Regions from separate parts of the Homo sapiens genome. Here region 1 is linked to region 2. The links are contacts of gene promoters, found by promoter capture Hi-C in human tissues and cell types (Jung and others, 2019). All regions are on one chromosome and are shown on one strand. The core of a region is centred on a gene start or on the middle of the fragment in contact, and the rest is flanking DNA. Distances in the headings are between cores, read along the strand shown. Region 1 has its middle 200 kb from the start of PDE8A. Region 2 holds the start of WDR73 (WD repeat domain 73).

Region 1 (6,999 bases), core at 744-3,243, 530 kb before region 2:
GAACAGCTTACTCCTGGAGTAGTCTATGTGTGCCACCTACCTAACCTACTGAACAAAACCCAGATCCTTTCCTATTTCTCCCAGTGTGGCACTGTTACAAGGTTCAGACTATCCAGAAAGAAAAGGACTGGAAATAGCAAAGGCTATGCATGTGTGGAGTGTGAGTCTGAGGATATTGCCAAGATAGTTGCTGAAACGATGAACAACTACCTGTTTGGTGAAAGACTCTCAGAGTGTCATTTTATGCCACCTGAAAAATTCAAAAAGAACTCTTTAAAGACTGGGATATTCCATTTAAGCAGCCATCATATCTGTCAGTGAAACAGCATAATCAGAATCGGCACTTACACAAAAGCTGCGAATAGAGGGACGATTTAAAAAGAAAGAAAGATTACTCAGGAAGAAATTAGCTTATAAAGGAATTGATTATGATTTTCCTTCTTTGATTTTACAGAAAATGGAAAGTATTTCAAAAACGAATCATCTGATGTCTACAAAAGGCCACGTTTTACGTAAGAAGAAGAAAAAGGTTTTAGGCATTCCTGACACTCCTGAGAAGACTGTGGATACCCAGGGCCCCACACCGGTTTGTACATCAACATTTTTGGAGAGACAAAAATCTGAAGTGGCTGAAATGAATGATGATGATGAAGATAATGAAATAGTTTTTGAAAAGCCCATATCCTGTGTAAAAGAAGAAATACAAGAGACTCAAACACCTACACATTCACAGAAAAAAAGACAAAGCATTCAGTGATTTTCAATATATTATATATAAGATTTCTTCTGAAAAATATAATGTTTTTATGAGAAAAATACAAAAAATTAGCTGGGCGTGGTGGATCATGGCTGTAGTCCCAGCTACTTGGGAGGCTGAAGTGGCAGGATCACCTGAACCTAGGAAGTTGAAGCTACAGTGAGCCATGATTGCGCCACTGCACTCCAGCCAAGTAAAATTACATTTATCTTAGCCTTTTCTGACTGGCTTAAGTGGGATCTGTATTAAGAATACAATAGGCAATCTCACAGACATCTAAATACAGAACTCAGCATGTGACCACACCATGGAAGGACTGTGCTGGGAGGTGATTTTCCTCTCCTGCATGCCTTCACTCTGGACTTCTGCTCCATGCTTGTGCTTTGCTCTGCAGATGGACGTTCGGCACGTGCTCCAGGCTCCTCCAGCCGCTGAGGCTTTGGCTTGCCCTGGCAGTACCCCTGGTCCCAGTGTTACTGGACCTTTCCATACAGATGCTCCTCTGCAAAAAATCTATCGAACACTCTCTGTGTCATTTCCAATGAGCAGGATAGAGAATCTGATCTGCCTAGCAGTGGGGGTGGGAGTTCCCTAGTTGTCCCTGGATTTGTAGTGCTGCCCTTTCCAGAGACTCGAGGAGGGTCCGGATATCCAAAGAGAGGATGTGGGTGGGGAATCAGTAATACAGTCTACTTCAACAAGAAAGTATAAAGTAGAGGCGGTGGCTCACGCCTGTAATCCCAGCACTTTAGGAGGCCAAGGAAGGCAGATTACTTGAGCTCAGGAGTTTGAGACCAGACTGAGCAACATGGCAAAACCCCATCTCTACTAAAAATACAAAAAATTAGCTAGGTGTGGTGGCACATGCCTGTAGTCCTGGCTACTTAGGAGGCTGAGGTGGGAGGCTTGCTTGAGCCCAGGAAGTCGAGGCTACAGTGAACCAAGATTGTGATGCCACTGCCCTCCAGCCTGGGTGATAAAGCGAGACCCTGTCTCAAAAAAAAAAAAAAGAAAGTATAAAGTGGAAGGATCTGTATGCATGATTGAAGCATCTGTATGCATGATTGAAGCATCTGTATGCATGATTGAAGTCATGTTTTCCATATTTTTTTCCACCTTGCCCTTTTTTTCTCTACAACACTGTATCTGAAGCTTTTCCCTAGGTTATCAAGTACTCATAAGCATTATTTGAATGGTTGTATCAGATCCATTATCTAGACTCATTGTCGTTATCCATCTGCAGTTGCTGGAGATACTGTCCTTTCTGCCACACTCAGTCACCCTTCTGACCTTGCTCTGTGTCCGGTTATCTACTAATACACATGCTGGTCATTTAGGACTTCAACTTAAGAATAAATAATTATCATAGTTCCTAACACTTCAAAAAGAACGTAGCTTCCTAAAAATAGAATGGCTAGGTGGTTATGATAATTTTAAAGTAAAATAGACAAATTGATATTGAAATTAACTTTTTGCTTTCTTCTTTTATCTATTTTTCACTTCTCTGTCATTTTGATGGATAGTTTCATTTGAAAGGATTTTTTTTTTCAAAATAGAAATAGCATATGACATGGGAATGGTTGAACTAGAAAGGTTCAACTTTCTAGTCATTAGTTTCCTAAGATTGTCACAAAAGCTACTGATAGTCAATCATGATTGGCCTGTATTGAAAGTGAGTTAACATTATGTACAACTTAAGCACTGTACTTTCTATCAGATACAGAAAAATTGGTGCTGTGTTTGGAAAAGTATTGGGCTAGGAGTCAGGAAGCTTGACTGTTAGTCCCAACCCTGCTTCTTCAGCTCAGCACCCCTAGGCAATAATTCAGCAGCTATTTCTTAAATACCTAATGAGTTTCAGGCTTTGTAGTTGGGCTGGGAATAAAGACATAGATATTGCTTTCATGATTCTCCAAGGCTCCCCTCCTCACCCCAGCTCTCAGTGAGCTTTCTTATGTATTGTGTAAATTTGTCTCCTAACAGGTCCCAACTCTCTCTCCAACCTGCTTCCCAGGGAAGTTGTAAGGATCAAATGAGGGAGAATATGTGTGAAAGCAAATTGTAAATGATTTTAAAATGCAATAAAAATATGACCCATGGAAAATTATTTAAAGATCCTTAGAATTTTAAATAAAGAGTACATTAACCTGAGTTCTCTATGGTTTTTATTTTAAATAGATATGAAAGTTTTACAATGAACCACTGATATGGTAGAAAATCTTAGCTTGATTATTCTCCAAGAAAATGATACAGTTGTTTGTGCGATGAATTTTCTAAAATTGCCAGCCAAATAAAACCAAAACCTCTTTTGAGTTGAGTGACTGGATCAGTCAAAGGAACGTTGACTGTGTAATGGAGAAATGTTTTCTGTGTTCACTGACAGTTTGCCTTTGTTTGATTCTAGCTGCAGCATATCGTGAGTGATGAGACCTGTGTGTAGGTGACTGAACTTTACCTGGCAGAAAATAATAATGGGGCCACCGGAGGCCAGCTGAACACACAGAACTCAAGAAGCCTCCTGGAGTCAATGTATCCGCAGAAAGCCGAGCAGCTAATGTCAGATGAGAAATGCTTTAAGGTGAGAGTTGCTCATATAGTCAAAGACCTTGCTGGTGACAATGTAAGTTGTTAGGATTCTCTGAATCAGAAGTTATAGCCAGGGTACTTTGACCCTGTAATTCTACTCCTGGAACTTTTTAGAGTTCCTAATGAGTTCACCAGAGAAATGCAAAGTGGAAGAAACCATCTTCCCGGACAATCTACTTTCTTTCTTGCCGTAAAAACAAACAAACAAAAAACTAATTATATATGATTTTTACAATTTTGTATTCTTTTTCTCTGAACATTTTTCATAGCATGCTTTGTAAATATTATTGTTAGAAAAATGTTGGTACATGAAATGCATGGTCATGGTCATTATAGAAAAGGAAATGTAGGCCTGGCACACATGGCTCACACTTGTAATCCCAGCCCTCTGGGAGGCTGAGGTGGGCAAATGGCTTGAGACTAGCTTGGGCAACATGGCAAAACCCCATCTTTGCAAAAAATACAAGAATACAAAAATTAGCCAGGTGTGGTGGCATGCACCTATAGTCCCAGCTACTCAGGAGATGGAGGTGGGAGGATCGATTAAGCCTGGGAGGTCGAGGCTGCACGTCACTGCACTCCAGCCTGGGTGGCACAGCAAGACCCTATCTCAAAACAATAAAAGAAAAAAAAATGCAGATAACCAAAAAAAAGTCACTTTAAAATTCTTTCCTGAAATTACCATTGAAGACATTTCTAGACTTTTCTGTGCTTGAGTATATATTTTGAAAGAGTTTATACTGGACAAAAGGTCTTTCACTTTTTTTTTTTTTGAGACAGGGTCACACTCTGTTGCACAGGCTAGAGTGCAGTGGTGCGACCTTGGCTCACTGCAACCTGTGCCTCCTGGGTTCAAGTGATCATCGTGCCTCAGCCATCCTAGTAGTTGGAATTACATGTGCCACCATACTGGCTAATTTTTGTATTTTTAGTAGAGATGTGTGTCAGATCCCAGGGTCCAGGTCCAGCCCATGGTGAAGTCTGAGGGGAGTGGGTGGGTGAGCAGAAAGAACAATCAGGGGGCCATAGGCAGGTGAAAGATAGTTTTATTCAGCGGCAGCTCTCATTAACAGCTTTCTTACACTAGCTCTCTTATTAGCAGCTTACTCTTCCACTGTTCGCCTGTCTCAGCTGCTTGAGCCAGCTGCCCCCACACACAGCTACGCAGCCAGCTCTCCCTTGCCTTCAGGGTAAGTGGCTTAACTCCTTCTCTCTCTGGGCATGAGCAAGCCCAGCTGTGTCCTGGCTCCCTCCCATCTGCCTGCAAGATGGACAGCTTTGGTTCTCTCTGGGTGCCAGTGCGCTCGTCATGTCAAGCCATGTTAAGCCAAACTGAGCCAAGCCCCGAAGAGCCATGTCTCTTATGGACAGCATCAACAGGGCAGTTATACCTTTTACAGACAATAGTGGCATAAAGCCAGGAATGAACTTACACAAACAGGTTATATTACAAGTGGAGCTGTGTGCTTGCACGCCAAACTCGTGAGTCATGCAGGCCTGGATATCCACCTCGGCCTATTCCTTGACCAAAGCACATCCATGTGCCTTACTATGTGGTTTTGTATGTTGGCCAGGCTGGTCTCAAACTCCTGAACTCAAGTGATCTGCCCGCTTCAGCCTCCAAGTGCTGGGATTACAGGTGTGAGCCACTGCATCTGACCTGAAATGGTGTATTTTTGCTCAATTAGCAACACTTCTGGGTCTTTAATGTCTTTTCTATGGCTACTTGATATTCACTTTATAGAGAATTAATGCCTGTATTGTTGGACATTTAAGTTGTTTCCAAGTTTTCACCATTATAACTGTATTTGTGTGTATATATTATATTCTTGCCAGGCTGTAAGCTTTACTAGCAGAGAGGAAATTTTAAAGCTTTGAAAGAACACTGAGCTAGATCTAGCTTCTGGCTCTGTGTGTTTATTGACTAGTGGTGTGCCTTGAGAAACCAGAACTCTCTGAATTTCAGTTTTGTCTCTGTGTAAATGAAGAAGGTTGAAATTAAAAAATCTCGTTTCCTTCCAGGCTCTGATCTTCTCCATGTGATTCTGATAGTTACCTCCTCTGCAGAAAGACATTAGGGTAACGGCACTGAGAATCTCAGGGTTCTGAAAGGGGAGATCCATGTGCCATCACCATTGATAGTTGTTTTTTGCAAAACATGGTTTGCTTGCCTCTATTGGTGTGTTGCTTTTAAGTATGGATTTTTAAAAATCACACAAAGAATATTAGTGGAACTCAGAATTTCAGGAACTTCATATACAATTGGTGCCATTTTAACAACACTTTTTTTGTTTTGTTTTGTTTTTGAGACAGGGTCTCACTCTGTTGCCCAGGCTGGAGTGCAGCGGTATGCAGGAATGCCAGCAGTTTTTAGCCAATACAACAGATCCCTGGAGGTCAAGGGATCCTGCTTATCACTCTGGCCTTCCTACCAATTAAGTTAATTACATCCACATTGTTGTTGATGGTGAAGTGCCACCACCTGGCATCTGCTGTTCTCACCTTCCACCATTCCCACTGACACCAAAAGCCTGGTCTCATGGCAGCATCTCCTGTTGTCGATCTTGGCCTACAAAGGATAGTGCCACTGAGTCTCTGAAAGATTCAGGTGCCTTTCTCCGTAGTGCCTTTCTTGTTAGCCTAGAGAAGGGAGTTCCTGTGAGCCCTCCAAGGGCACATGGTCAAGTGGTGGATTCCGAATCTGCTGGCATATAACGAACCATCCCAACATTCCTACCTCCCTGTACTTTCCAGCTTCTTTGATGCTTTGGGAATGCAGTTGTATAATCTCCACCTAATTCACTGCAGCAACTGTTACGTCCACATTTCAAGGAGCCACTCCAGCAGTGTGTTAGATCCTCCGGTGTCCTTGCCAAGCCATTAAATCCTGAGAGTGCTCCCAGGTCAGTGTATTCTCATGTGTACAGCCTTTAGTCTCCCCTTGGTCCAACACCCTTATGTTCACTTCTCCACCTCCTCTCCCAGATTCTGCCAGTACACACTAGGCAGCCCCTGCAACATTTTTGGCAAAAAAATCATTTTCCCAGAGCAGGTTGTGCTTGTGACCTTGGGCCATGATGAGGAATGACCATAGTCTGGTGTCAATGTGGGGCAGCAATTATGACATGCCTCATCCTGCTGTGAGGGCTTGTTGGAGGCTCTTTGCCTAGTCTCCAGGCAAGGGGCAGCTGCCCTTCTCTTAGCAAGGAAAGGGGGCTGCTTCTTTTAGACCAGAGCATTCAGTGGAAACTGGAAGCTCAAAGTTCTCAGATGTATCCACTTAAGTTTTCCCATAGCAGATATCATTCCTCTACTCTCCTCTCCATTCCTCTCCTCTTCTCCCTCCCCTCCTTTCCTCTCCTCTTTCTTTTCCTTTCTCTTTCTCTTTTTTTTTCTCTTTGAGATGGGATCTCACTCTGTCGCCCAGGCTGGAGTGCAGTGACATGATCTCAGTTCACTGAAACCTCTGCCTCCCAGGCTCAAGTGATCCTCCCACCTCAGTTTCCTGGGTAGCTGGGACCACAGGCACACACTACCACATCTGGCTAATTTTTGTATTTTTTATAGATAAAACGGGGTTTTACCGTGTTGCCCAGCCTGGTCTCAAACTCCCGGGCTCAAGTGATCCTCCTGCCTCAGCTTCCCAAAGTGCTGGG
Region 2 (6,789 bases), core at 3,428-5,927:
TGGCTGTGAGAGGGCAGAGAGCAAGGTGAACACGGGTCAGATTCCCCCAAAGGGCGGAGGTGATGGGGATTAGTTTATGGAAGTCCTTTGGTGCCTAGCACTTGGCTGGACACTGTAAAAATGCCTCTGTTAGCCTGGGAAACCTAGCGACATCCAGTCTCTTGGAAAGAAAAAAAAAAAAAGCCAGGCATGAAGGCGTGTGCCTGTGGTCCCAGCTTCTGGGGAGGCTGAGGCTTGAGCCCAGCCCTGGAGGTTGAGTTTGCAGTGAGCCGTGATCGCGCCACCGCACTCCAACCTGCGCGATACTGCCAGATCCTGTCTCAGAAAAAAAAAAAAAAAAAAAAAAAAAAGCCTGTTACCCGGGAGGAGAGCTCCTCGCCCGACCTCTACCCTCATGAAGAGAGGCTCAGAGGGCTGAAGTGCCTATTTGGCCGAAAGCCGTGGCAGAGTGGCAAGGCAGGGCCAGGGGAAGCGGCTCCGCCGCCGGGGCCGGGCCCCTGTTTGGCCGGTGCCCGGTCCTTAGCCTGAAGGTGGCGGGCTTCCGCCAGAAGCCCCTGGCGGAAGCGGTGCCCGCGTGCGGGCCAGAGTGTGGGTGTGCAGGTCTCTGGGCGGCCCAAAGGGGGTGCCCCTGCCTGGTAACCTAGCGGGAGGGTGGGGACGGCGGGGAGGGCGGCGGGCGCGGGGCACGGCTCCGCTGCTCAGGGCAGGCTCCGCCCCCAGGGGCGCGGATTTAAAAGGATCGAAGGCAGCCCCGGAGCCCAGCGGCCGGGAAGCGCGCCCGAACGAAGCCGCGGCCCGGGCACAGCCATGGCCCGGCGGGCGGGGGGCGCTCGGATGTTCGGCAGCCTCCTGCTCTTCGCCCTGCTCGCTGCCGGCGTCGCCCCGCTCAGCTGGGATCTCCCGGAGCCCCGCAGCCGAGCCAGCAAGATCCGAGTGCACTCGCGAGGCAACCTCTGGGCCACCGGTAAGTCTTTGGGGACGGAGCAAGCAAGCGCCCCTCATCCAGTTCAGACCCCATTTCCTTCTCAACCCTCTGGCCGCTCCTCAGCCACGGACACTAGTGTCGGAGCAGGTGGAAAACCCTGGGGCTCATCTAATTTAATAGATATGTACTTGAGACCCGGACAGGTCAGTGACTTGGCTAAGGTCGCGCAGCCAGTTTAAGACAGGGCTGGGCTAGATCCTAAATCCCACTGCCAGCCGGTGCCCCTTACCTTAGGCGAGACTTAACCGAATCTTCTAACCGCTGGTGTGTTTTTGCTGCACCTCCACTTTCCAGGCGCCTCTTCACTCTCCACTTCCTACCCTGCCCTTTTTCGTCCCTTGTCCAAGCAGCCCACACAACTAGCAGAGTTTCTCCCTGGCCCTGGACCATCCCACCTTCCTGCCAGCTGTGCCATCCTCTCTACCTGTTCAGGAAAAGCTGAGGGAGCAGGCTTTGCCACCACCCAGACACCTTTGTGGCTCCTTGGTGAGGTGGAAGCACCAAGAGGAGGAAGGTTAAGTGTCTTCCCGCTACAAGAACGGAAACGTGGGAGAGATGAGGAACTTTTCCTCTGAGGTAGGATCCTGGCTGCTTGACTTCCTTGTGCCTGGACACCTCCTTTCCAGGTCACTTCATGGGCAAGAAGAGTCTGGAGCCTTCCAGCCCATCCCCATTGGGGACAGCTCCCCACACCTCCCTGAGGGACCAGCGACTGCAGCTGAGTCATGATCTGCTCGGAATCCTCCTGCTAAAGAAGGCTCTGGGCGTGAGCCTCAGCCGCCCCGCACCCCAAATCCAGGTGAGCCGGGCCCCTGCTCCAATGTCAGGAGGGCCCAGCTGGGGCCATCCCCGGATCCTGCATGGGAGGAATTACCACCCAGTACTGTATTAGGGTGTGACTGTCTGACTAGGACATTATGGGTGTGGACCCCAGAAAGCCAGGTTTCCAGGCTTTTCCCTCTTGAGGCAGAGCTCAAAGGAGGAACAGTCCAAAGAAAGGAAGCTGACCTTCCCAGTAGACCCCATGGGGCAAGAAGTAGGGAAAGAAGTTCCCCTGACTCATCACCCAGTCTAAAGTAACAGACTGGGATCATCAGCCTTTTGGAGCAGGACCTTTCTCCCCCAGTCTACACAGTCTTGTCCCACCCATGCTGTTCCCTGCTGCATTAGTCAAGTCCACCTTTGCTGTGTCCTGTGTATGCTTGTGGCCGGAATGGGACCCTGAGGCCCAGAGAGGGAAAGAGAAGTCAGCAGCCAAGACAGAGTCTGGACCTTGTTCACCTGGACTGGAGCTCTTCCCATTCTCTCATCTGCCTCAGTATCCAGTGGTAGGGTTTAGCAACTTCAGTACATTTGACGTTCTAGGCTGAATCACTGTTTCTTGTGAGGGCTGACGTGTGCATCATGGGATGTTTGGCAGCATCCCTGGTCTCTACATACTAGATGCCAGTAGCATCTTTCCCCCCCATCAAGTTGTGACAACTGAAAAGACCTCCAGACATCACCAGATGTCTGCTGGGGGAGAGGGCCCCAAATCATTATTGGTTGTCAGTCACTGATCTATGGGATTCAAGACTCCAAAGCTGGAGCCAAGCTAGCCTCAAGGTATAGCCCCGCTGAGTGGCAACTCCTTCATTCCCTGCTCCTGGTGCTGTCCTTACTGCACACCACCCTCCCTGGTCCTGCTGCTGTGTGCAGAAGGCAGTGTGATGTGGTAGAATGTGGGTTTTGACTACAACGTGCTGGGCTCATAACCTAGCTACTTAGTAGCTGTATGACCTTAGAAATGTCCCTTAACTTCTCTAAAGCCTCAATATTCTTCACCCATAAAATGAAGATAATAAGGCCCATCTCCCATTAAATGAGACCATTTATGTCAAATGCTCAGCATGGTGCCTGGCTCATAGACAGCCCTTAGTAGATGCGAGCTCTTATCAGTCTGTGAGCTCCCTGGCGGCACCTGTTGTAGACTCGCCTTCATATCCCCCAGTGTGCCTAGCATATAGTGTGTGCATTTTGAAGGGAGAGGCATTCCCTAGAAAAGGTCCAACCCAGCCTCAACCAACATCCCTGACTTCCTGAGGCACAGAACCAGCAGCCCCTGAGGACCTCAGATGTAAGGCCTAGGAGCTTGGGCTGGCTGAGTCTGAAGGGAAACAATGTCACCTCTAATGCCCTTGGTTTTGAAGCTCTGACACATGCAGACCAACTAGAGAATCTCAGAAGCAGCAGTGCCTACGTCTGGGGCTTCAGAGTGAGGTCTGGGGCAGAGCTGGGGTGGGGGAGTGAGGACGCTGACACTAGCCCAGCACCAAGCACTGTATTTGGATTTTCTTCCACGATCTTCTTTGACTGTCATGACCACCCTGGGTGGTTGGGGCTGTGTTCTGAGAAAACTACTGCCCCGACCCCTCCAAGGCAATTCAGGGTGCTCTGGGGCCTGCCTCAGCTGACAGCCTGCTGGTGCCCACCTCTGCAGACATCTGGCACTTAGGAATGGCAGGATGCCCCTATCTTTATCAGGAGCCCCTCCCTGGCTCAATTCTTCTGTATGTTTCTCTTCAGTACAGGAGGCTGCTGGTACAAATACTGCAGAAATGACACCAATAATGGGGCAGACACAACAGCGTGGCTTAGATTGTGCCCACCCAGGGAAGGTGCTGAATGGGACCCTGTTGATGGCCCCATCTGGATGTAAATCCTGAGCTCAAATCTCTGTTACTCCATTACTGTGATTTCTGGCTGGGTCACCAGAAATATCGCTGATGCAGACACAGATTATGTTCCTGCTGTATTTCCTGCTTCCCTGTTGAATTGGTGAATAAAACCTTGCTCTTTACATACAATGCCTGGTCCTCTCCTTTCACCCGTCTTTTAGGGGATGGGAGGAAAAGGGGGCTGGAGGGCAGAGTGTTCAGTGAGATGGGGCTGGCTCAAAAAGTCCAGAATACCCCATGCCATGGCACCAGCCTGGCACTGACTCTGGCCTCCTACCCATTCATTCAGCAAGCAAATAACGCCTGTTGCATGCCAGGCTTCGTGCCAGGCGCGGGGTTCTACTCTCATCTCTGCCACCTACTGGCGCAGGCAAGTGTCACTAGTTTCCTCGCTAGTAAAAGGGGGCTGCAGACACTACACTGCCGGGCTTTACTCAATACCCCCGCCGGACTTGGAGGGGAGCGCCGAGTTGGGATCCAGACCCTGCCGGCCGCTTCCTCTCTTCTCTGGCCGTCAGAAGGGTTGCCAGCGTTAGCAAATAAAAATACTGGACACCCAGTTAAATTCGAATTTCAGATAAACAATAATTTTATCTAATAAAATGTACCAAATATTGCATGAACATACTCGTAAGAAAGAAATTATTCACCGTTTTTCTGAAATTCGAATTTAACCGGGCGGTCCTGTATTATTTCTGGCCTTGGAGCATTCATTGCCCCTCTCTTGGGCTGCAAACACCTGGCCCTAAAACGGGCGATCATTTGGTCCTCAGGTCCTGCTTGGAGCTGACAGCGGGAAAGTCCCGATTTCAGGTCACTTTTCCCGGAGCTTTCGCGGAGAAAACCCGTAACCCACCCATGCCGGGCCGCAGCTCAGCCTGTTAACCCCGCCCCTAACGGGAGGCCCTGCCCACATCTCGCGAGAGCCGCGCGGCCCCCGAAGGCTCGCAGGCGGAAGTGAGACGCCGGAAGCGGTCGTTGCCATGGATCCTGGGGACGACTGGCTGGTGGAATCCTTGCGCTTGTAAATCGTACGGGGCTGGGACATGGGAGCTGGGCCTGGAGCTTGCCTGGCGGGCGGATGGGTGTGGGTGGAGGCACGTTGGGGATCCTGGTGCAGAGTGGGCCAGCTGTGGCCTCGGGGCTCGCCACCGTGGAGGACTCCGCCTGGGCCTAGGCCCCCATCTCTAGGAAATGGCTCCTTCCTGCGTGCGCGCGTTGTGAGATTACTAGTAAGAGCCGCGCTTGTGAAGACGCAGTGCCCAGTTAGTTTGCGCCAGCCTCTGAGTTCAGCTCAGAACACAGATGATCTCATTGATTCCTCACGTCAACCTTGGGAAATCTGGGTACCCTGGGACGTCCACACATGAGGACCGAGGCTCAGGGACATCAAGGGACTGGCCTGGTCCCAGAAACAGGGAGTAAAATGGGAAGTAAACTCAGTCCCACGTCTGCCTGACTCCAGAGTTTGGGCCACTGAACCATGCGGCTGCCATCTTGGAGTTCTTTGAGCTGTGAAGTGCTGTGCATCGTGTGATTCTGTGTCCCTTTTGTGCAGGTACCAGGATTTCTATGCATTCGACCTGTCAGGAGCCACTCGAGTCCTTGAATGGATTGATGACAAAGGTGGTATACCTTTCTAGCCCTGAAGGAGAGGGAATCTCACTCCTGAGCTGGGTTTCAGGAGCTAAGCCTAGAGGGACCCAACCCACTCTTCTGGGCACCTGAGAGTCACTTGTAGCAATTTGATGCCCCATCAGCACTAATATTCCTCTTATTAAGATCTCTGACCGGGAGCAGTGGTTCACGCCTGTAATCCCAGCACTTTGGGAGGCCGAGGCAGGCGGATCACCTGAGGTCAGGAGTTCGAGACCAGTCTGGCCAACATGGTGAAACCCCGTCTCTACTGAAAATACAAAAATTAGCCGGACGAGGTGGTGCACACCTGTGTACCAGCAGCTACTGGGGAGGCTGAGGCAGGAGAATCACTTGAACCCAGGAGGTGGAGGTTGCAGTGAGCTGAGATCACGACACTGTATTCCAGCGTGGCTAACAAAAAAAGTCTTCAGGCTGGGCACTTCAGGAGGCTGAGGCAGCGGGCAGATTGCTTGATCCCAGGAATTTGAGACTAACCTAAGCAAGGAAACCCTGTCTCTACAAAAAATACAAAAATTAGCCGAGCATGGTGGCTCACGCCTATAATCCCAGCTACTCTGAAGGCTGTGGTGGGAGGATCACTTGAGCCTGGCAGGTTGAGGCTGCAGTGAGCTGTGATCGGACCACTGCACTCCAGCCTGGCTGACACAGCGAGACCTTGTCTGAAAAAGACACAACCAGGTACTCAATTCCTCCATACAAGGCTGCACAGTGAAGGAATGTATCCTTACTTCGGGGGATTGCATGGTCTGCAATCTTTCTAACAATTTGTGACAGCTACCTCTGCTTCTTTTTCCAGGAGTCTTTGTTGCTGGCTATGAAAGCCTGAAAAAGAATGAAATTCTTCATCTGAAATTACCTCTCAGACTTTCTGTAAAGGAAAACAAGGTAACTTAAAATATAAATGCTGAGTATGTCAACTTTTATTTATTTATTAAACATTTGTGGAGCTCCTGTTATCTACCAGGTATTGTCCTGGATACTAGAAAGAGAGAAAGCGCTAGGCCTGCCCTTCTAGTCTAACAGAGGGAGGCACATATGCACAGAGATAAATGCTGTAGAATGTCTCGTGGTTTACAGAGGGCTATCAGAGGAGGAGGTCAGTTATACTTTATCAGAAATAGATTTAGGGAGCGATTAAGGATATAGAGGGCGGTCGAAATGCGTAGAGTGATTAAAGTCACCTAGTGAATGTGTGGTATATAAGGAGTGAGGAGAATATAGTGAGGACGGAACCTCAGGGAACACATTTAAGGGATGAGTACAGGAAGATGCACCCCCCCTCCCCAAAGAATACTAAGAAAGAACAGCCTCTGAGGTAAGAGGAATCTCAGAAAAGGTCAATGTTTCTGAAGCCAAGAGAAGAGAACTTCTCAAGAAAAAAAGAGTTAGTAGCTGTCTAGAGTTCCAATAAAATCATTGAGAGAAGAA

What was found. Contacts are between HindIII fragments. The study calls those that stand out against the background at their distance.
Region 1: a contact is called between a fragment that was not itself captured here and the fragment with the promoter of WDR73 in region 2, in 2 of the 25 tissues and cell types used here (IMR-90 fibroblasts and bladder).

The regions. Positions count from the first base shown.
Region 1 is chr15:85,174,968-85,181,966 of GRCh38, reverse strand. It overlaps the pseudogene NIFKP8. Among named protein-coding and RNA genes, the nearest start is that of PDE8A, 200 kb to the right of the region's middle. The HindIII fragment of the contact is 3,731 bases long and covers 128-3,858 here.
Region 2 is chr15:84,652,171-84,658,959 of GRCh38, reverse strand. It overlaps WDR73 (WD repeat domain 73), which reads left to right and starts at 4,677. Exons shown (of 8, transcript NM_032856.5): 1 at 4,677-4,726; 2 at 5,261-5,328; 3 at 6,158-6,246. The coding sequence starts at 4,686. It overlaps NMB (neuromedin B), which reads left to right and starts at 761. Exons shown (of 3, transcript NM_021077.4): 1 at 761-964; 2 at 1,612-1,784; 3 at 3,551-3,828. The coding sequence starts at 808. The coding sequence ends at 3,586. RefSeq lists a silencer at 646-805 and enhancers at 4,691-4,930, 4,357-5,324. The HindIII fragment of the contact is 11,541 bases long and covers 1-6,789 here.